7 separate regions of the Homo sapiens genome follow, and all the other regions are linked to region 6. Evidence: promoter capture Hi-C in 16 types of primary human blood cells and fetal thymus (Javierre and others, 2016). All regions are on one chromosome and are shown on one strand. Each heading gives the region's core, a stretch centred on a gene start or on the middle of the fragment in contact. The rest is flanking DNA. Distances are from core to core; before and after follow the strand shown.

Region 1 (2,899 bases), core at 28-2,527, 290 kb before region 6:
TTCATTTATCTGAGCCTGTTTCTTCTTCTGTAAAATGGGATTAATACAACTTGAGTGTCCCTTGCCTGAAATGTTTGGGACCAGAAGTGTTTCAGATTTGGGTTTTTTCAGATTTTGAAATATTTGCATTATATTTAGCCAGTTGAGTATCCCTAATCACTTGAACCCAGGAGGCGGAGGTTGCAGTGAGTCAGGATTGCGCCATTGCACTCCAGCCTGGTCAACAAGAGCAAAACTCCGTCTCAGGAAAAAAAAAGCTTCAGATTTTTGGATTAGGAATACTCAACCTATACTATTATACAGAATAATTTTTAGGATTGAATTGAGATGATTTCTAAAATATCTAGCAGAATACTTGATTCCTAGCAGGTACTCAAAAATGTTAATTTCATCACGTTCTTCTTACTGTTCTCGGGTTGCTTTATTAGATGACGGAATGTTTTTATACCTGCTATTTGTCTTATTATCTTAAACAAAATTTGAATGACCTACACCAGAATTATTATTAAAGCAGACAGTGATCTAACATTCCAGTAGCGGAGCAGTAATAAAGAAAATTTCATACTGATGGAATTTATTTTAAGACTGTGATCTGAGCTGTTCTACCCTAAGGTGTTAGTGGCTGATGATCACTTAATAGATTGCTCTGCCAGAGATTATTTACATTTTCAGGGGAAATAAATTGCCAATGAAAGAATAGAAGAATTTTAGGTTTTGTGGCAAGCCAGTGAGGAAACTGTGATTAGGAAAGGGATCTTTCAGTGGTACTCTTTGTGGTCTATCTACCACCATAGATGAGTCCTGGCAAGGTATCGAGTAACTTACCACAGTTTGTATATAATTTATAGATTTGGGTTTCTATAGGAAAAATTGCCTTTAATAAATTCAGATCATCATGCTATATTATTTCATTTGGGTATGACATTTAGATGAGCACAGATGCAGTTACTATACTATAAATCTAACTGTAGTGTTGACAAATTAAGGTCTAGGCCTGTTACGGGCTGAATTGTGCCCCACCCCCAATTCATAGGTTGAAGCCCTAATCCCCTGGAACTCGGAATGTGACTGTATTTGGACACAGGGCCGTAAAAAGGTGATTAAGTTTAAATGAGGTCTTTATGGTGGACCCTAATCCAATATGACTAGTATCTTTATAAGAAGAGGAAATTTGGATACGTGGGGAGACACCAGAAACAGACAGAGGGACAGCTATGTGAGGACATTTCAAGAAAGCAGCCATCTGCAAGTTAAGGAGAGAGGCCTCAGAAACCAAACCAGCCAACAACTTTATCTTAGATTTCCAGCCTCCAGAACTGTGAGAAAATAAATTTCTGTTGGTCCAGCTACCCAGTCTGTAGTGTTATCAGGGTTTTTTTGTTTTTGTTTTTTTGTTTTTGAGACAGAGTTTTGCTCTTGTTGCCCAGGCTGGAGTACAATGGCCTGATCTCAGCTCATCACAACCTCCGCCTCCCAGGTTCAAGCGATTCTCCTGCCTCAGTCTCCCAAGTAGCTGGGATTACAGGCATGAGCCACCACACATGGCTAATTTTGTATTTTTAGTAGAGACGGGGTTTCTCCATGTTGGTCAGACTGGTCTCAAACTCCTGACCTCAGGTGATCCGCCCACCTTGGCCTCATAAAGTACTGGGATTACAGGCGTGAGCCGTTGTGCCCGGCCTGTAGTGTTACGTTACGACAGCCCATGCAAACTAACACAGGGCCCAGTACCAACCCTTACACATGGGTGTTTAATATTTGTTATTTTTTCAAAACTAAAACTGTTGGTTGCTACTTGGGAGGCTGAGGTGGAGGATTGCTTGAGCCCAGGAGTTCAAGTCCAGCCTGGGCAACATAGTGAGACCCCATTCCTTTAAAAAAATTATATATACACACACATACACACACAATATATTATATATGTATATACACATATATATGCATATGCATATATAATATATACATATACGTGTGTACATGTATATATATAAAAGATCTACACACAAACATAAAATAAATAATAAATTTTTGTTGTAGAAAAATCAGGGATGGATTATAGATGCTGTTTCTCATGAAGTAATCAAATTAAGTTTCACAACCCAGCATTTGAAATAGACCATTTTAAAAGAGTCGTCTTATCCTTTATTTTGCCACCAAGGCTGTAGCCCCTTTCCTTCCATTTCTCTGTCCTCTTCACCCCACCCTACACTATCTTGTCCTGTTCCAACATACATGCATATAGGCCAGCTATAGCTCACTTCCTATATTTTCAGGTGTATTTTGTCTAGCAAGCTTTAGTTATTTTTCCTAAGCAACAGGATTATCTTCCATGTTGTTTTTCTATTTCACTTTGTGAAAAATGAGGAGGCCAGTTGAAGAGGGAGAGAAGGCCTTAACATTTATTGAGCACTTATTTTATGCCAGGTACTGTTATTCACTTTACATAAAACATTTCCTTTAGTGAGAAAACAGCAGTGGCCACATTTAGAAAAATGAAAAGCAACAGTGACGATCTTGTAACATTGCTTTAAAATGAGTCTCTGGCCCTTGCCCTACTTTCTGTATATGTGCTTAGCTCTGCCATTATCAGATCTACTGTACCTGGTAGTTATGAAAAGTACATTAATTATTTAAATCTCTAGATGTAAGTCATTTTGTGAGATGACAAACAGCATAACCTTGGGGTATGTGTCTATTAGAATGGGTTTAGAAACAACACAGGGGTACTGGTGCTTCTGAGAGTATGTCATTGATAGTCACAAGTAATTTGCCGGTGCATGCCTTCTTCTTAATGGAAAGGAATTGAAGGAAAAATGTAAAAAGTTGCTAACTTCTAGCCAATTAGACAGTAATTCTGAGGAAGGGACAGCTACTCTAAGGCTATCGGAAGCATGCCTGG
Region 2 (2,855 bases), core at 136-2,635, 410 kb before region 6:
GAAACCCCGTCTCTACTAAAAATACGAAAATTATCTGGGCGTGGTGGCATGTGCCTGTAGTCCCAGCTACTTGGGAGGCTGAGGCAGGAGAATTGCTTGAACCCAGGAGGCGGAGGTTGCAGTGAGCCGAGATCACGCCACTGCACTCCAGCCTAGTGACAGAGCAAGACTCCATCTCAAAGAAAAAAAAAAATTATCCTCTGGGAAAAAAAAAAGGGAACAGAGCATTTGAACTACAGTCCTACTGTTCTCAGGCTGTGATTGAATTACAATCACGAATTAGAACTGACATGAGTTTTTCAGCGGAATATCCTGACCAGTCGCCTCACTCACTTGGAACTTGTCCATCGTCTCACTTCTCTAGAAGAAGCCAACAACCTATGACATAGCAAAAGATGACCCTGGACAATCAAAATAGATTAAACAGAGAATAGTCACTAAACAGTATTGACTCTTGGAAATGCCCTAACCAACCTGGTTATTTTATGAAGGATTGTAACAAGCTTAGTTCTCTGAAATCTATACCTAGAGCAGATAATAAGCAAGAAAGTAAGGAGAAATGAGGAGAAAGATACAGAAATATTTGTTGAATGCAGCTAAATGCAAGCAGCCTTACACATATTATTTAATCTTTATGACATCCCTTTGAAGCGGTATGATTATCCCGGTCCTCAGATGAGGTTACTGAGACAGAGAGAGGTCACGCCCTGTGAGTGCACCATGTGCATGCAATGAAGCTGAAATCCTAGCCTAGAGAGTCATCATTACATGACCAACAATTACTAACTTTTATGGAATGTTTTCTAGGTATACCAGATACAGCACTTTATGTCTATTATAACTCTTAATTCTTACAAAGGACTTTAAATCAACCTCCATTATTGTCACCATGCCATAGATGAGTGAATTGAGGCTTGGAAAGTGTAGGTCCCTTTCCCTTCATTGCACAACTAGCTGACAACTGAGACAGGACTCAGACCCGGTCAGTGTGATGCCTGAGTTCGTGGGATTTCACCACAGCCTGCACTGCGCTGACAGGCACGATGGCAACAGAAGTAGCAACTTGATGGCAGAACACAAAAAAATAAAGCTAGACAGGCCAAGACATCCAAAAGATGCTGCTGTCACTCAAGATGAAGGCAGTAGTTTGGATCAAGGGAAGACTGTAAGGCATGTGCCCACATTCTCTGTGAACTTGGGGGAGGGAGTGTCCAGGAGTTCAGTGGTCAGCTATGAGCATAGCAGGAGAGGGCTGTCATGACCTCAAAGGTCAAGGTTTTACAGGAGGCCTGGGAGCTGCATTGGGCAGCTAGGGCGACCCTGATCCCGGCTACTGATGTGACCTCAGCTTCCAGTGTAAACCCCATGTTTTGACACTGAGCTTTGTGGAATGAAGAGAATAAAAGGCCTTTTTTGAGAAGGTGGCAGGGATGGCAGGTTCCAGAGAAAGTAATAGGTGAGAGGAACTTTCAGAGAAGAGGCTGAAGCCACACGAGAGTTTGCAGTTCATGGTGTGAGCATTCCAAAGGGCACAGTGGATGGGTATGCAATGGAGAAAAGGATGGAGGAAGGGGGCAAGGGTGGGTCAGAGACATGGAGAGAAGAACTGAGCAATAAGGCAGTGTGTAGTTGTGGAGTTATTATAGATATGCATATATATATATATATATATATATGCATATCTGTGATAGGTTTTCATCCACAGTTCCTGGCTCATAACTCCCATAGCCCTTACTACAGTCTTGTTATAATGTTGAGTGTGTTAGACCTCAGAGGCAGGCCTCAAAAACAGAATCTTTTGGCCAGATGCAGTGGCTCACACCTGTGATCCCAGCACTTTGGGAGGCTGAGGCAAGTGGATCACCTGAGGTCAGGAGTTTGAGACCAGCCTGACCAACATGGAGAAACCCTGTCTCTATTAAAAATACAAAATTAGCCAGGCATGGTGGCACACGCCTGTAATCCCAGCTACTCGGGAGGCTGAGGCAGGAGAATCGCTTAAACCTGGGAGGCGGAGGTTGCAGTGAGCTGAGATTGTGCCATTGCACTCCACCCTGGGCAACAAGAGTGAAACTCCGTCTCAAAAAAAAAAAGAAAAAATAAACAGAATTTTTCTCACCTACTCCCCCTACCCCTTTCACCTGCCCGTCAAGGCAGGACTCTAATCTTGACCCCACCCCACCTTTCTGACTGTGGGTCTTAAAACCCTCCCCAGAGAAGGTCTTGCCCTATACTCTGGGGAAAGAATGTGGGTGTCTTGAAGCTTCCATAAAAACCCAAGAGGACTGGGTTGGGGAGCTGAACATGTAGAGGCTGATAGGCAGGTGAAGGAGAACTCATTCATGTACTGAGAGGGTGGTGCACCCCCGCTCCACATGGACAGAAGCTCCTGCACTAGGGACCTTTCCACACCTCGCCCTATGCATCTCTTTATCTGCCTACTTTTATCCTTTAAAATGTCCTTCGCAATAAACTGGTAGCTGTGTTTCCCTGAGTTCTGTGAGCCACTCTAGCAAATCAACCAAACCCAAAGAGCGGAGTGGTTGGAACCTCAACTTGAAGTGGATTGGTCAGAAGTTCCAAAGGCCAGCCCTCTGACTGGGAGAAGGAGGGTTTAGGCTTGAGGATCTGACACTATCTCCCAGTAGACAGCATCAGAATCAAATTGGAGGACACCAGCTAGTGTCCACTGCTTGGGGTTTTCCCCCACACCTTTGCTCGCAGAAGTCTTCTGCATTGATGATTGTTGTTATGCTGCTGTAAGTGAAGAGGAAAAACTCAATTTGGGAGTTTTTTCAAAAACAGTAATAAAGAATTTAACCCTGCCCAAAAAGAGGTCTGGCTTCTGCCCTCAG
Region 3 (3,059 bases), core at 265-2,764, 370 kb before region 6:
TGAGGCAGGAGAATGGCGCGAACCAGGGAGGCGGAGCTTGCAGTGAGCTGAGATCGCACCACTGCACTCCAACCTGGGCGACAGAGCGAGACTCCGTCTCAAAAAAAAAAAAAAAAAAAAAGAGATTAAAACTGAGAACTTTAAAAAATATGTCTGTGTATGTATATTTCATTTTTTAATTATAATAATAAACCTATGACTGATAAACTCAAAAACATTTCTAGGAAAAATAACTTTATTTTCTAAAACAAAAATATTGTGAGGAGGATAGCATTGTTTTTTCATTTTTGCAAATCTCTTTCACGTCTGGTTTGATTGAAAAAACTAGGTTCTCATGTTTGCTTCTGCATTCAGTTAGGTTCATTATCACACACTCTGTCACCTGGAAAATGCCACTGTTCACGTGTGAGAAAGTGAGAGTGAAAAAAGACAGATAACATATTAGTATTATTATGACATTAATTTTAACCTTGAAGATCCCCTCAAAGGTCTCAGGGACAATCAGGGGTCCCTGGACCATGTTTTCAGAACAGCTACTTTAAAGAAAGTTTGGAAACATAAGGGCCCTTTCTGATTGTCCCATTTACGAGCAGGCAGAGGTGCCCAGGTGTCAGAATGACCTATTCAGCCCTAGATGGTTCTACACAGGAAAGAACTGCCCAGCCCCAAACAACAGGGTGCCCAGAGAGGAGGCTAGATTAGTTCCTGCGGTAGGTGATCTGGACTTTTGCATATTTGCCCAGCATAACTTTGTAAGAGCTTAATAAACTTTTTTACATTTGTTAAATGAAAATGGTGGAACCAAATTGCAGACGAGATGGCTCACCTAATAATGAATCCAAATCAGATAGCTTTCATCGTGCAGCATTTTAACTACCACAGATTGTGTAACAGAAATTATTGCATGTCCCAGGCAATGCCTAAGGAACTGCTGTTTGTAACACAAACAGTCTGGCAGCAGTTAATCACATGGCTTTCCTCATTTTCTGTTTTAAACTTCTGCTGGACCTATGACCAGTTATCTGTGTGAGATGGTAAGCCTTCGTGTTACTCACTACCCCATAGGAAGGAGCAGATCTGATGGGGTTTCCTGATTAGGGTACCAAAGGAACAGGCAGCACTCTGTATACCTTAGTGGACAATGTCTGAGATAAGCTGTGATAGGCTAGCATCCCTGCAATTTGGTTTTTAAAACCCTATAGTAAATCATAAATCTGACTCGGTGTGGAATCCGTGGAATTAACAGGGATGTCGGGATCTGATTCTAGCCTGGAAGCTCCTGCTTTCTGAGGGCCACACTGGAGGTGCCCTCAGAATTCAGAAGGGTAGATCCTCCCACCCAGCCTCCCTCACCAGCTCCCTGGAGGTAACCAGTAGCTTTTCTCCTGGCTGCCTTTTGATAGTGTTTGTCATCAATCAACTTTATTAGTTGTTTGCTTTTTTTGCATCCTGATTCACCTCCTCAAAACCTCGCCATTATCAAGTCTCTTTGTTGTTCAAAATGTTCAGTGCATCCTGTCGGCACATTGTATAAATATGCCATAGTTGTTTGTACATCATCCTTTGATGACTATCTAGGCCATGTAAAATTTTCTGCAATTATGAGCACCGTTCCTAATGCAGTTTCCAGCCTGGTATTCAAGAGCCTCCATGCTCTGTCACCTATTAGGTTTCTTTACATCAGGCTCCACCCTTTGTAATCCTCTGCTTCAGCTGTGCTCCTGTGTCTGTGCCCACCCATCCACACCTCTGTTCCTTCTCCTTGACAACACTAAAGGATCCTCTCACTTGTGGTCCCTGCTACTGGGGATGCTGAGGCAGGAGGATCTCTTGAGCCCAGGAGTTTGAAGCTGCAGTGAGCTATGATGGCACCACTGTACTCCAGCCTGGGTAAAAAAGCAAGACCCTGACTCTAAAAAAATAAAAATAAAAAAAAAAAAGGATCCTCTCCAGTGTCAGCTCAAGACCTGCTTACTCCATGGCTCTGTACTTACCAGTCCTGTGTGAGAGCGGCCCTCTCACTACACCCTGACTGCGTGTTAGTATTACCTTTCTTTCTCCTTTGCCATTTGGGGAAAGAAATTTTTTATTTCATTTAATTTTGATTTTTGTTGCTAGTGACACTAATGATTGTTCCTGACTCAAATTTGTAAAACGTTTACCATTGGTGCCATGCAGTGGCACTTACAGCCTTGAAACGTTTTTGTGTATATCCTGTTTCTGCAAGTGGATTAATAAAGTAGGCCGAGTGGGGTGGCTCAGGCCTGTAATCCCAGCATTTTGGGAGGCTGAGGTGGAAGGATCGCTTGAGGTCAGGAGTTTGAGACTAGCCTGGCCAACATGGCGAATCCCTGACTCCACTAAATATACAAAAATTAACGGGGTGTGGTGGCCTGCACCTGTAACCCCAGCTAGTCAGGAGGCTGAGGCAGGAGAATCGCTTGAGCCCGGGAGGTGGAGGTTGCAGTGAGCTGAGATTGTGCCACTGCACTCCAACCTGGGCGACAGAGTGAGACTCTGTCTCAAAAAATAAAATTAAATAAAATAAGTAAGTAAAAATTTTAAAATTAAAAATAATACAGTGACCTGCAGTCAGGAATGGCCTCTCGGAGAGTCTTAAATGGAAGGGAGATCCCTGAAGCATCTAGCCCAATTCAGTCAATATCTGCTGGCTGTCATTTAACACAAAATGTATTAAGTATTTGAAAGTATATTTTTTAAAATTTAAAAAGTCTTAATATTCTCCTGTAGATTGAGTTATCCCACCCAAATGAAAACAACTCATAAAAACGAAGAAAAAAAATCAGTGCAAAGAAATTTTTAAAAATATTTTAAAAGGGTAGAAGTTATCTCTAATCTCAGGTACTCCAATTCTTTTTAAATGAAAGCATCTTCATCACTGATGATTCACATCTTGTAAAATTCCCCACAGAAGTGTGCATGGTCCATAGACACCCTTTTCTCAGGTGAGTGAAAGAGTTGAGAAGAGAGACCAGCGTGACAGTTCCACTGTGTTTGGCAAAGCCCCCCGCCGGTGTCCCTACCCACACACAGGCACT
Region 4 (3,220 bases), core at 334-2,833, 320 kb before region 6:
TTTACCTTCAAAGTATAAATAAACTCCAACCATGCCTCAACACCTCTGCCACCACCCTCTCCCCCAGAATACTGCAACTGCCTTCAACTAGTCCAAAGGGAAAAAAGCTTTTTTTCCTTTCTACTTATCAATCTAAATAAAAAGAAAAGAGAAGCTTCTAAAAAGAAAGTGACATTTATTCAGGAATAAAGTATTCCAATGGGAATACACATGCCATAGTAAACTGTGTGTGTTCAGGGAGGTAAGGGAAGACAAAAGGTTTTTAAAGGAAAATAAGGAGGATCACATACTTGTTTTGAGATAATTACCCTTGGCTACAAGGATCAATAACAAGGATGACACCCGTCCACAGATGGACCAGGCAGTTGCTGGGCAGATGTCCTTGCAGAAGTATTTTCTGTGTATTTATTTCATGATGTATTTTCTGTGTATTTCAGAAGTATTTCATGATGGCCTTTGTGCAAGGGTGTGGTTTTTGCAGAGTCTTTTGAGATATTTTGGTATTTATGCATGAAAGCTCTCTCTTCATAGCCTTTCCTGGATCTATTTGTCTTTTTTTTTTCTTTTAATAGAGACAGGGTCTCACACTCTGTCATCCTGACTGGAATGCAGTGGCACAATCACAGCTCACTGCAGCCTGGACCTCCTGGGCATGGTGCCGTGCACCCGTAGTCCCCCTCCCGGGTAGCTGGGGCTACAGACTCACACCACCATGCCCAGCTAATTTAAATTTTTTTTTTTGTAGAGACAAGGCCACACTATGTTGCATGGGCTGGTCTCCAATTCCTGGGATCAAGCAATCCTCCTGCCTCAGCCTCCCAAAGTGTTGGGATTACAGTTGTCAGCCACTGTGCCTGGCCAGTCAGGATTTTTTTTTCTTTTTTAACACAAGTGACTCCATTTTGATTATGACAATTTTCACATATTCTATCCTCCCAGCACACTTTTGTGACCAGATGTGTGGGGGCTTTTTCCCCACACCAAGCAATTCTCCAGAGGACACCAAATGGGTATCCTATAATCCAATTCCATTTGGATGTTATCTACCTAGAGACCATGTCAGATCCTACAGGTTGAGGGCTCAGTCCCATGACTCCCTCCACTTCAGATGCCAATCCCACATCCAGGCCACCAGTACATCTGACTGACTGGCTACAAAGGTTCCCACTCCCCCTTCTTGGGCATAACTAGTTTGCAAGGACAGCTCGCAGAACTCAAACAAACACTTACTTATGTTTATTGGTTTATCCTAAAGGATATTATAAAGGGTATAGATGAAGAAATGAGTAGGGCAAGGTATGGGACAGAAGAGGTATGAAGCTTCCACTTCCTCTAAGCATACCACCTCCTACACGGCACCAGCCCCCAGCAACCCACTCATTAAATCCAAATCTTGATATTTTTATACAGCTTGATCTCCAGCCCCTCCACTCCTTTCCTGGAGGCCTGTACGTGGGGCTAAAAGTTCTAACCCGTTAATTCTCTAATCATGTGGTCTTTCCAGCTACTTGCCCCATCTGAGGCTATCTACGGCTCCATCCTAAGTCACCACAATAGTATGAACCCCGGTGTTAGCAAACAGGCTCATTCTGAATAACAGGACACTCTTATCATTCAGGAAATTCCAAGACTTTTAGCTCTGTAACGGAAACCATAGACAAGGACCAAATATAATTCATATTATACTATAACTAATCTCCCTGCTTCAGGTCTTGCCCATTACATATATTTTCAACAGTGCAGCCACAGTAATGCTTTTAACACTGAAGTCAACTTATGTCACTCCTCTGCCAACATCTCTGCCATGGTTCCTGGTTTCACCCATAGTAAAAGCCAGAAAGCTTACAATGGCTTATAAGACCCTACTTGGTCCAGCTCCCCCATTATTTTTCTGATCCACCTTCTATCGCTCTGCTGCTTTCATTGCAGTAGCACAAACATGACAGGCAGCCTCCATTCTCTCAGGGCCTTCCTGGAACTTGCTTCCCCTGCCTAGAAAGCTCACTGCTCTTCACCTCTTTCAGGCTTTTGCTCGAATTGCACTTTTCATTGAAGCGTTCCCCTCACCATCCTATTTAAAATTGCAAACTCCCCCTACTTTGGCATTCCAGTCCCTACTGCCTTATTTTTCTCCACAGCACTTTTTATCACCTGACAGAAAAACACATACTTGTTCACTGTCTTTCCCACTCTATGACATAACTTCCTTAAGGGCAAGAAATTTTTGTTTTATTATTGTATCCTAACATTGTATCTGCAACAGTGCCAAACAGTGACACTCATAAAAAAAATTACTGAATATAAACATAAAGAAATTTATATTTGTAGACACGCCTGGGATTACTTTACTTCAAATTATACCCAGCATAAGTATCTATTAACAACCATGTGATTTAGTCTAGTATTTTCCAAACCTGGCTGATGATGATCAGACTCATCCTCAAATGTTACAAAACCACAGAATTCTGGGCCAACTCTATTGAATCAGCATCTGGGGGTGATACTCAGAAATTTATTAAAAGCACTCCAGGTAATTCTGATGAACTGCTAATTTTTTGCTGGAATAAACAGATCTGAAATTAGAAGTCTGTATTCCAACCACAGCTCTGCCACTGTATCAGGATCTTATGTTCCCAAACCCTCTGAAATCAATTTATTTTCTTATTCATGAAATAGGAATACAAATCTTGCAAAGTTCTGAGAATTAAAAGTGTATGAGACAGTCTCATAAACTGTCAAATACAATAAAATGTGGAGTATTACAGAATTTAATGAGCTGCTATATAAAAGCCGTACCAGTCGGTACAAATTACTATAATTCTAAAAGCGATTTAGAGCTTCTAAAAGGATCTTTTAGAATTTACAAGATTCTATACTCTCTTTAGTTCAGAGTATATATACTGGTTTTGGACTAACCAATTTCCAAAATACTCTTCCAGGTACATTAGAAATTCATAACTTTTCCCATCAGTTGCAAAGATAAACCAAAGAGATGAGAGAGTAACTACTATATGCTAATAGCTAACAAGGACCTCCAAAAGGTTAAAAAAAAAGAAAAAAACCTTGAAATGTATTTTCTCCTCTCGCAAATCAAATGGCAATAAAAACGAACATCTTTACGCAACCAAGTAAAGGTAGGTGGAAAAATAACATTGTATACCAGACAGACTTACAAACTGAGATTACATATTAAAAATCTAGTCTAAAAAACAAAAAATGA
Region 5 (3,098 bases), core at 196-2,695, 350 kb before region 6:
GCTCAGCACTCAACTGCTGTAATAGCCACTCTACTCAATCTCAGCTCCACAACTGAATGAGTACAGTCTCCTTATCTGTAAGATGTGATAAAAGTATCTCACGCACAGGAATGTTGAGGTCTAAATGAAATAACATCTATCTCATATATCACAACCAACATCTAACAAGCCTCACAAGCACTGGTTATTACTCTCTCCCAAAACAGAACTGTTAGATGGTGTCCCACTTTGGTTACAGAAGTAAATGTCTTGGGAAGAAAGATGGTATTTGTGATAACATGTAAAGTTTGTACATCATCACAAAAACAGGTAACTTTTTTCTGCTATCATTTATTTATAGATTTATTGATCACTTAACATTACTAAAGTTCAAGTAACAAGGTTTCTTGCCCTCCTCTGTATGGAGAGATAAAGGAGATAAGTGACATAGGGAAAGTTTACATTCCACAGCACTCTACCGGTGTAACAAACAGGCGTAGGCTCTTACAGAAGGCCACACAACCATAAGGAAAACTGTCACACATTCATATACCGTATACAACTTAAATCTGCATAAACTCTTGAACTAATGATGGTGGCAGGTGCTCCAGTCAGCCTGCTATCATTCCGGCTGCAGCCTTGGAGCAGGCAAGATCTCCACCCTCCTGGGTGCGGGTGCAGACTCAGGCATCCCTGCACTTTTGGGGGCCTGCTTTTGCAGGCTCGGAAGTGCTTGCCTCTGCAGCTTGGCTTCTCCCTGCTATTGGCACCAGCTCTCAGATCAAAGCAGGGGGGTAAGCCTGGAAGCCATGAACAGGGAGGGCCTGAAGGCTGAGGGCCAGGCTGCCAGTCCCACCTGTAGGAGTGGGAACTGGTGCCTTTTCCAGGCCAGTAAGTATGCACTTCCTCCCCCGAGGCCCGTAAAATGCCCCAGGCTCAGCCAGAACTGAGCAGAGGGTGGGACGACCAGCAACAGGGAGGAGCTACCCTCTCTGCTAAGAGCTTCAGAGACCTGTAGAGACGGCAGAACAACCTGCCTATGGATAGAAGCTATCCTCTCCAGGGCCCCGTCTGAGAGCAGCAGGACCTCTGGACAATCTGCCTGCGAACAGAAGCTACCTTCTCCAGGGCTGCTTCTCTGCTGAGAGCTGAGAGGAGTCACCCTCTCCAGGGCCTTTTCTCTGCTGAGAGCTGAACACTTGAGGGACGACCTGCCCGCCGACACAGGGGAGCTGCTCACTGTGGGTCTCCTTCTGAGCTGTTCTAACACTAAATAAAGCTCCTCTTCTTCTTCTTCACCCTTCATTTGTCTGCATATCTGGACACAGGACAAGAACTCGGGCACCGTGGGCAAAGCGCCACGAGCAACAGGTTTCCAGGGGAAGAAAACCACCACAAAGATCACTCATAACACTAACATAACCAAAACTTCAAATCTAAAAATGTAATGCATCCAACTGTACAAACTGTCAGAAACTAGACGCCACTTTTCATCTTTAACATTTTGAAATCCTCATACTCTCACAAGAACAAAATGAAACCAAAAAGGAGAACACATTCAGTGATTTTAATGTGTAAGAAAGATTACATGCTTCATGGGCAGAACCAAAGGTTAAACCTTGCATTTTGTTCATGGTTATTACACAAGTAATTACACAAGTCCAGTGTATAAACACTACCTGAACACATTGTAAGTTCTTCTAATAATAATAAATATTATATGAAAAAAGTTAACAAGCATTAATTCAATAATTCTCAAACAGATATTCATCGAAATGAGGTAGGTCTAATGTGTCATTTGCTAAAGCATTTAATGCTGAGGAGGAAAAAAACTCATCGAAAATATCAGTCTTCATCGGACTCTCCAAGTTTAATGTTCTAACGCAGGCATTATTTGTCAGAGAGTCTGGCTGAACTTCACATGGATTTTTCTTGGTGGGGCTACAATAATTATGGTCCTGTCTCAGATGTGTGTTCTGGGAAACATCATTGAATTCACTTGGTACTGGTGGTGGGATATGACTATCTCCCATTCCCAAATACCTAAAGTCACCTTCCCCATTTTCTGACAGCTCTGTTGAAACAGGTGTAGGAGACAATAATTCCGCTAAAATTTCTTCATGAGTTTGACTACTGTACAGGGAAACACCAGGAACAGTGGTGCATGCAGACTCACTGGCAATATCAATTGGATATGGTAGCTCATTTAACAAGTCCTCTATTGATTCACAATCATTTGGAGACCCATCCTGGGGCACCTGTTCTAGATTTTCACTTCGAACTGTTCTGCTTTGCGGGGAAGACATAAGAGCAGCTAATTTCTTCTTTTCTGCCTTTAGCTTTTTACGAAGTTTTAGACGAAGTTTATGAATCTGACCTTCCACCAAGTCTTCATGGTTTGCTGAAGAAATACCATTCCCATAAGAACTGTGGTTGAGTTGAGCTCCACATGAGGTGCTTCCAGACTTTTCCAAAACTTCTGAAGCAGCATGAGCATGTGGGTGGGCAGCTGTGCCATTAGACGATGGAGGGCCTGCTGGTGGCTTACTGATGGGAGGAGGCTTACTTGCACTCTTACGAGCTTTCTTGGATACGTGGCTGGCCTTCTGGTTTATACCTTTAGTTTTAAAGCCACCAAAATTATTTACCCCTTTAACTGAAGGTTGTAAATCAGTTATAGTGTTTCTATTATGAGCTGAAACACAGAGTGGCATAAAAGAAGCACCCCTGCTTATTAAGCCTTTAACCCAACTTCCCACAAATGGCTTCTTCTGATTTTCTTTCAGAGACTGATTCTGTAATGACTTAGATGTTGTGGTTTGAGAATCTGCTGTAGTTTCTTTTTTCTTCAAATTAGATACCTGAGATGTGACACGTTCTGGTTTTAATTGTTCAGTTTTTGGTGTAAGGAATTGTTTTAACTGAGCGTCCTTCTCAATTTCTACTGACTTCACTCCCTGTATAAGACCAGTAGCATCAGTATTATTCACAGATTTAGTATTTACAGTATCTTCTGTATTCAGCTGTACTGACTGCATGTTTGTATTTACAACTTGGGATGGAAAACTTATGTCCACAAATTGGTCTTGAATAAGCTTTTCATTACATGGAGCTGATAC
Region 6 (2,965 bases), core at 452-2,951:
CCTCTTGGGAAGTTACTTTGTGTAGGAAAAAACTTTGGTAAACAGTTTAGGAATGGCAGGTAGCTATGAAGGCACAGATTAGGAGATGGAAATAAAAGTATTGTATAAAGAGAGGAGAGGAGGGGAGAGATGGGACCAGAAAGATGGTACAATAGTGGGAGGTTACAGGTTATGATGAAAAAATGGGGGTAGGTGGTAGGTGGATAAAAATATCATGGGAGGAACTGAAGGACTTTTAAGAGCAGGGATTTCTAATTTTAGGTTTTTTGCATCCTTAATTTAAAACCACTTATCTGCTCCAAACCTTCTAAAGAGTTGGCTATAGAAACAACCAAAGAAAAGGGGCTGATTTCGAAATTATGTGTCAGCAGGAGTAGAGAGAGGAGAGTTGTAAGAGGTGATATGTGGAGAGGTCTAAGTGTTCAGGAAAAGCAAGAACTGAGAGCCAGAAGTGACGGTGCAATCCTTGAGAGGACATTGGCCGTGGGGAACACCACAAGGTGGATAAGGGACTCAGTCAAGTTCAAGAAAATCTCTGTGGTAGGATGACTCAGCTGGATTACAGGAGCCATTTTTGTTATTTTCAACCATAATTTTTCAGGAGATATTCATTACTAGAAAATGACAAGGTCACGAATTCACTCCCCTTCCTCTTTTTTTCTATTAAATTTCTGGGCCTCAGTTTTCCCATCTATAAAATCTAGAGATTGGGCCTAGAATATCTCTGTAGTTTCCATTAGAGTCTATAGCTCTAATAATAATAACAACACATTTTTATGTTCTCTTTTGAGGTAAATTTACATGCAGTGAAATGTACAAATCTTAAATGTCCCATTCCAAGAGTTTTGACAAGTGCATATACTTCTGTAACCGAAACTCTTAGCTATAGAATTTTTTCATCACTACAAAAAATTCTCTCAAACTCCTCCCCGACAGCCAACCACTATTCTGACTTTTATCACTATTGATTAAATAATTAATATTTAATAGCTATTGTTAAATGCTAAGCTTTGTTTTATAGAGCTTCATCAGTATTAATGCGTGTATTTCTTACAAGAGTTGCAAGATGGATATCTCCATTTTTGCAGATCAAAACGTTAAGAGGTGAGAAAGGCGCCTCTGGTCATCAGCTACCAAGCACAGGGGCAGGACGTGAACTAAGAATTCGTTTTAGAAGCCCACGCTCTTAACCTGTTTATCCTAGAGTCCACAAACGATTGCCAAGAAACAGCATAAATCCAAATTCAGTCGAAAGCAATGCCATTTGCAAATTCTAAAACCTCCTGAATAATCCTAAAGGCCATATGCATTCCATCTTATCGAAGGATTCCCTTCTATCCCCCTCCCCAGAGAATGGAGAAAGGGGGTGCGAAAGACTTCAATTCGGTTTGACTGGAGAAAAACACAGAGGTGGCGTAGGATCCACACATCCCTTGGGGGCAGACCCAGCGGCGGACGCCTGGACAGGCGGCGGGAAAGGCGCTGCGACGCCCCGGGTGCCCCCTCCTTCGACGCCACTGGCATCACCTCCGAAAGCAGCAGGCACGAAGGTGCCCTGCCACGGGGGCTGGACGCAGTGGAGGCAGGCTCATCAAGCACGACCAGAGCTCAGTCGGCCACACGTCCTCCTCAATGTCACTGTCTCCCTGCTCTCCCACCCCGCGCCGCTGCACCTCCCTCCCCCCGGCAACCTGGGCGGGAGTCCCAAGCTCCGCCCCAGAGCGGACTCACAGCCCCCGCGCTCCCTCCCGCGCTGCGCCCACCGCGCGGCCGCGGCTGCCATGGCAACACTACGCCGCCGCCGCCTTTTCACGCACGTCGCGAGCTAACGGACTCGGCGGCGGCGGCGGCGGCGGCCTGCGCCCCACCCGCACCCCATCTGGACCGCATCGCTGAATGTGCCCGGACCTGCGCCTTCTGGGTAATGAATCCGAGAGAAAGGGGCGAGGGCGAGACAGCAGGTGGTGGAGGGCTCTAGCCAACAGCCCCTCTCGGCCTCCCACTGCCGGAGACGCCAGGGCAGTGGGCTGCGGGGTTCCTCGGGCGCTGGCTCCCGTGCGGGGACGGGGAGGGGCGCGGGAGCGCCAGGCTCGCGGTGCATCATGGGAATTGTAGTTCAGCGACTCCTCGGGCTCGCGGTCTTGGTGGGGTAGCTCGGACTGGCGAACTACAAAGCCCGGCGGCCCCGACCGCCGGGAAAGACCGATAAACTTTGAGCGGACCGGGACAGAAAAAAAAATCTCTCTTTGTCTTGAGGGGGCTGTTGAGTGGTCGCGGACCTGGGCTCTGTGCGTTGGGAAAGGGAAGTGGAGGTGAGCCTCGGGCTTCCCGCCCTGTAGCTGGGCCCGCCCCAGTTGCAGCGCTCAGCCCCACCCCGGCTGGGCCACCGCCCTGCACAGTCTCAGGGATGAGCAGCCGCCCAAGCTGCAGGGCCTCGGGTCTTCGGCGCCTCTGACCCTCGCAGGTTGCTGCCTTTCGGTGCAGAACCGTATGTATGTCACACATTGGATGTGAGACCTGAGAAACCGTGTTTTAACAGGTTTTTCTCCTTTCCTGGATACGTTTATTTCTGGGTTAGTCATGTTTGTTTTAAAGTAGCTCAGAGGTGTTTGCATATTAAACCCATCAATTGGTAATTACTCAAAGGGCAGTAATGTTTAAAGGTTAAGTGTGGAAATAGATAAAAAGATGTCATTGCGATTATATGGTGGTATCTGGCATTTTTAACTTTTTGCATTTTTGAATTTTATTTCTTGAGGTTCAAGGTTGTGAAATGAGTGCTCCACCCCACCCCCCCCTTGCCAGCCTGAACACTGCCTACACATATTTTGATTAGTTCAGCTTTAAATTACTAGTAACTTTTAAAAACAGACTTTTTTAGCAGTAGGCAGCAATAATTCTTTGATTATTCCAGTGTTATTCAGAATTTCTCAGCATGTTTTCGGAAGGAAAAATACCATGTTTT
Region 7 (3,305 bases), core at 3-2,502, 330 kb before region 6:
AAGCTACTTAGGAGGCTAAGGCAGGAGGCTCATTTGAGCCCAGGAATTTGAGGCTGCAGTGAGCTATGATCATGCCGCTGCATACCAGCCTGGGTGACAGAGCGAGACCTCGTCTCTAAAAAAAAAAAAAAAAATTATGGAAATGGTTTGCTACAGATGTTAAAAAATGTAATCAGTGAAACACTGTAGAAACACATCAGAATTGGCCATTTCTATTCTGATCATCTTGTTCCACCTGTGGAGAGGGCGTGGCCACACAATGGTTAAATGACCAGCCTCAACTCTTTGGACTCTTCATCTACCGTTCTTCTTAACTTTTCAGTCTAATCCTTTCCTTTAACAACTTTACAACTGAAGATTTGAATCTTGTTGTCATTGAAAATAACTGAACAGTGAATGCTGGCTTCCAGCTTTGAGACTGGAAAGTAAGGTAAGCAGGAGAATCTACATGTTTCCCATTCTTTTTCCAATTGGTTGCTCTCCTTCCTATTCTCAGAGGAGCTTAGATGCTGCCTTACCGATTTGGCCCAAGAGACTGAGTCCTTCCATCCCTTCCCCTACCCTGCACAGAGCCTCACTTCCATGGTCCAGTTCTCCCCCTAGCCTGGAACTACAGTTGCCTGGAACATGGCCAGGAACAGTCACCTTCCATCCCTTCCCCTACCCTGGACAGAGCCTCACTTCCATGGTCCAGTTCTCCCCCTAGCCTGGAACTACAGTTGCCTGGAACATGGCCAGGAACAGTCACCTTGGCAGGACCACAAGGTAGACAGTAGGTGTTATTACCTAAGCAATAACAATCATGTGGGGTTTCTAAAAATTACTGATTTCCTGAGCCCCTTCCCTGAGATCCTAATTCAAATGTCCCTATGATTGGTATTTACTTTTAAATTCCCTCGGTGCTTTTTAATGCACAATTGAGGTTAAAAATGCTAGATCTGTCTACTGGGAAAAGTACTAGAGAAGCAACTAACAATATGTCCCCTAAATATTCTCCCGGTTCTGAGAACTGCACCCACTCTCAAGAGGTGGAACACCAGCCTACATATTTATATGGAACAGCTCTGCCCTACAATAACTTACCCAGTGGTAGATTCCTAAGTCAAACTACTCAGATTCTCTCTCCCAAGAATATGATCATCCAAGGTAATCAAACAGTATTATATTTCCTTATGATGTACATATTTCTACATGGTAGATGAGTATAATACAAGCGAGTTATACCCTAACCCTAAGCATATTCTATAAATATCAGTAGTTACAAAGGCTATTTTAGTAGTCACCTTTGCGGGATAGTCTCACTGCTACTTTTGAACAAAAACATTAAAAAAAGTTTTTTTGTTTCTTTTTGAGAAGGAGTTTCGCACTTGTTGCTCAGGTTGGAGTGCAATGGCGCAATCTCTGCTCGCTGCAACCACTGCCTCCTGGTTTCAAGCAATTTTCCTGCCTCAGCCTCCCGAGTAGCTGGGATTACAGGCACCTACACCACGTCCGGCTAATTTTTTGTATTTTTAGTAGAGACAGGGTTTCACCATGTTGGCCAGGCTGATCTTGAACTCCTGACCTCAGGTGATCCACCCGCCTCGGCCTCCCAAAGTGCTGGGATTACAGGTGTGAGCCACCGGGCCCAGCCATAAAATAAGTTTTAAAAAGTTTTTTTGTAAGTAGAAATACAAATCAATATCCTAGAAATGAAAATATGCAACACTGTATGCATAAACAGTATGTCATATAGCACAATTTTGTAATTCATTATCAGCCTTTAAATCCGTATTCTATTGTAACTATATATTAACTGAAAAAGCAAACAATTTACATTTCATAATGACAATATAAAATCTTCAGGTCTAAAATACATAAAGTTCTCCATGAATTAAAATATTATGAAAGAGCTCAAAACACATCTTTAAATAAGTTATATGATTACAGAGCATTTCATTAGTAAGATCTTCAGCTAAAATATAGCACCTATCCTTGAATGGGCAGTAAAACAAGAGAGGAATCCTCCTGCACTGAAAAGAGCTGTATGCTTGCCCAATTATTATGATTACACAAAACAATAATTTAAAAATTCCTTCTGTTACATAGAAAACCAGGCCCATGGCGGAGGTGGAGCAAAAGATGTAACTTTGTTCCAAAAATAATTATCAGGGATAAGAAGGGTAGTGACTCAGGCTGGGGGAGAAACCATTCTTTAATTCAACTGGGAACTGAAGTAGGGAGTCTAGAAGGGAAATGGTATCTGCTAAATGCACCACGAAAGCCCTTCCATCTAAACTCTAGGGATCTTACGGAAAAAGCTCCTTTGAAATGAGTATTCGCTCAACAGATCAGTGGCTGGGGGTGATGAACCTGGTGAGAAGTTTTAGAGTGACAGAGTCCTATATCTTGATTGTAGTGAGGGTTACAGAGCTGTACACACTTAAAAACGGTCTTACTATATGTAAATTACACCTTGATATAAAGAAAAAAGAATATTCATTCCATCTGAGGGCCTATCTGATGCATAAATTACAACAGTTCTTCAGGCCTAGAGGAGGAAATGTCAGAAATTTGGCATACGAAAAATCAGACTTTTATAAGAACAGAATAAATATGTATGTATAAGTCCATGAAAAATAAAGCAGATATACAACTATTATATATTAATTTTAATAAAATGTAGGAAAAAAAGTGAAAATTAGGGGGCAGAAGCATGAGTCAAAGAAGTACGTCAAAAGCTGTCCAGCATGTACAAAAGATGCCATGCTTCCCGATATATATATATACACACGCACATACACACACATACACACATATATATATATATATATATATACATTTTTTGAGACGGAGTCTCGCTCTGTCCCCAGGCTGGAATGCAATGGCGTGATCTCAGCTCACTGCAACCTCTGTCTCCCAAGTTCAAGCGATTCTCCTGCCTCAGCCTCCCGAGTAGCTGGAACTACAGGCACACACTACCACGCCCGGCTAATTTTTGTATTTTTAGTAGAGACAGGGTTTCACCATGTTGGCCAGGATGGTCTCAATCTCTTGACCTTGTGATACGCCTGCCTTGGCCTCCCAAAGTGCTGGGATTACAAGCATGAGCCACCAAGCCCAGCCTTATAAAATATATTCTAAGTATATAAATATGTTATAAATATATTGTAAATATATTATAAAATATCATATTTTATAATGATCTGGAAGCATGGTGTCTTTTGTACATGCTAGACAAATCAGTAGCAACAACTGATTTTATTATAAAATATAAATATCATTTTTTAATATAAGTTAAATGTCACTCATTGAGAGAAAAACTA

Evidence for each region. Contacts are between HindIII fragments. The CHiCAGO score rates a contact against its expected background, and 5 or more counts as called.
Region 1: a contact is called between a fragment that was not itself captured here and the fragment with the promoter of KATNAL1 in region 6, in 8 of 17 cell types (naive B cells, total B cells, naive CD4 T cells and 5 more). The highest score is 9.1, in naive B cells.
Region 2: a contact is called between a fragment that was not itself captured here and the fragment with the promoter of KATNAL1 in region 6, in 2 of 17 cell types (naive B cells and total B cells). The highest score is 5.6, in naive B cells.
Region 3: a contact is called between a fragment that was not itself captured here and the fragment with the promoter of KATNAL1 in region 6, in 4 of 17 cell types (total B cells, naive B cells, naive CD8 T cells and 1 more). The highest score is 10.5, in total B cells.
Region 4: a contact is called between a fragment that was not itself captured here and the fragment with the promoter of KATNAL1 in region 6, in 8 of 17 cell types (naive B cells, total B cells, fetal thymus and 5 more). The highest score is 11.8, in naive B cells.
Region 5: a fragment that was not itself captured here is called in contact with the fragment with the promoter of KATNAL1 in region 6 in 6 of 17 cell types (naive B cells, total B cells, neutrophils and 3 more); the score reaches 8.3 in naive B cells.
Region 7: a contact is called between a fragment that was not itself captured here and the fragment with the promoter of KATNAL1 in region 6, in 3 of 17 cell types (naive B cells, total B cells and total CD4 T cells). The highest score is 8.4, in naive B cells.

Annotation. Positions count from the first base shown.
Region 1 is chr13:30,597,969-30,600,867 of GRCh38, reverse strand. It overlaps a transcript of HMGB1 not described here. Among named protein-coding and RNA genes, the nearest start is that of USPL1, 19 kb to the left of the region's middle. The HindIII fragment of the contact is 2,035 bases long and covers 260-2,294 here.
Region 2 is chr13:30,717,204-30,720,058 of GRCh38, reverse strand. It overlaps a transcript of ALOX5AP not described here. Among named protein-coding and RNA genes, the nearest start is that of ALOX5AP, 17 kb to the left of the region's middle. The HindIII fragment of the contact is 1,760 bases long and covers 506-2,265 here.
Region 3 is chr13:30,679,998-30,683,056 of GRCh38, reverse strand. No RefSeq gene overlaps it. Among named protein-coding and RNA genes, the nearest start is that of TRN-GTT2-4, 7.5 kb to the right of the region's middle. The HindIII fragment of the contact is 9,070 bases long and covers 1-3,059 here.
Region 4 is chr13:30,621,973-30,625,192 of GRCh38, reverse strand. The region is part of intron 3 of USPL1 (ubiquitin specific peptidase like 1); the gene reads right to left. Among named protein-coding and RNA genes, the nearest start is that of USPL1, 5.7 kb to the right of the region's middle. The HindIII fragment of the contact is 521 bases long and covers 1,323-1,843 here.
Region 5 is chr13:30,657,983-30,661,080 of GRCh38, reverse strand. It overlaps USPL1 (ubiquitin specific peptidase like 1), which reads right to left. Exons shown (of 9, transcript NM_005800.5): 9 at 315-3,098. The coding sequence ends at 1,725. Among named protein-coding and RNA genes, the nearest start is that of TRN-GTT2-4, 15 kb to the left of the region's middle. RefSeq lists enhancers at 1,160-1,279, 1,020-1,779. The HindIII fragment of the contact is 3,262 bases long and covers 1-3,076 here.
Region 6 is chr13:30,306,287-30,309,251 of GRCh38, reverse strand. It overlaps KATNAL1 (katanin catalytic subunit A1 like 1), which reads left to right and starts at 1,701. Exons shown (of 11, transcript NM_032116.5): 1 at 1,701-1,921. RefSeq lists silencers at 1,697-1,926, 1,957-2,066. The HindIII fragment of the contact is 2,852 bases long and covers 1,011-2,965 here.
Region 7 is chr13:30,638,736-30,642,040 of GRCh38, reverse strand. All of the region lies in intron 5 of USPL1 (ubiquitin specific peptidase like 1), which reads right to left. Among named protein-coding and RNA genes, the nearest start is that of USPL1, 22 kb to the right of the region's middle. The HindIII fragment of the contact is 4,705 bases long and covers 1-3,305 here.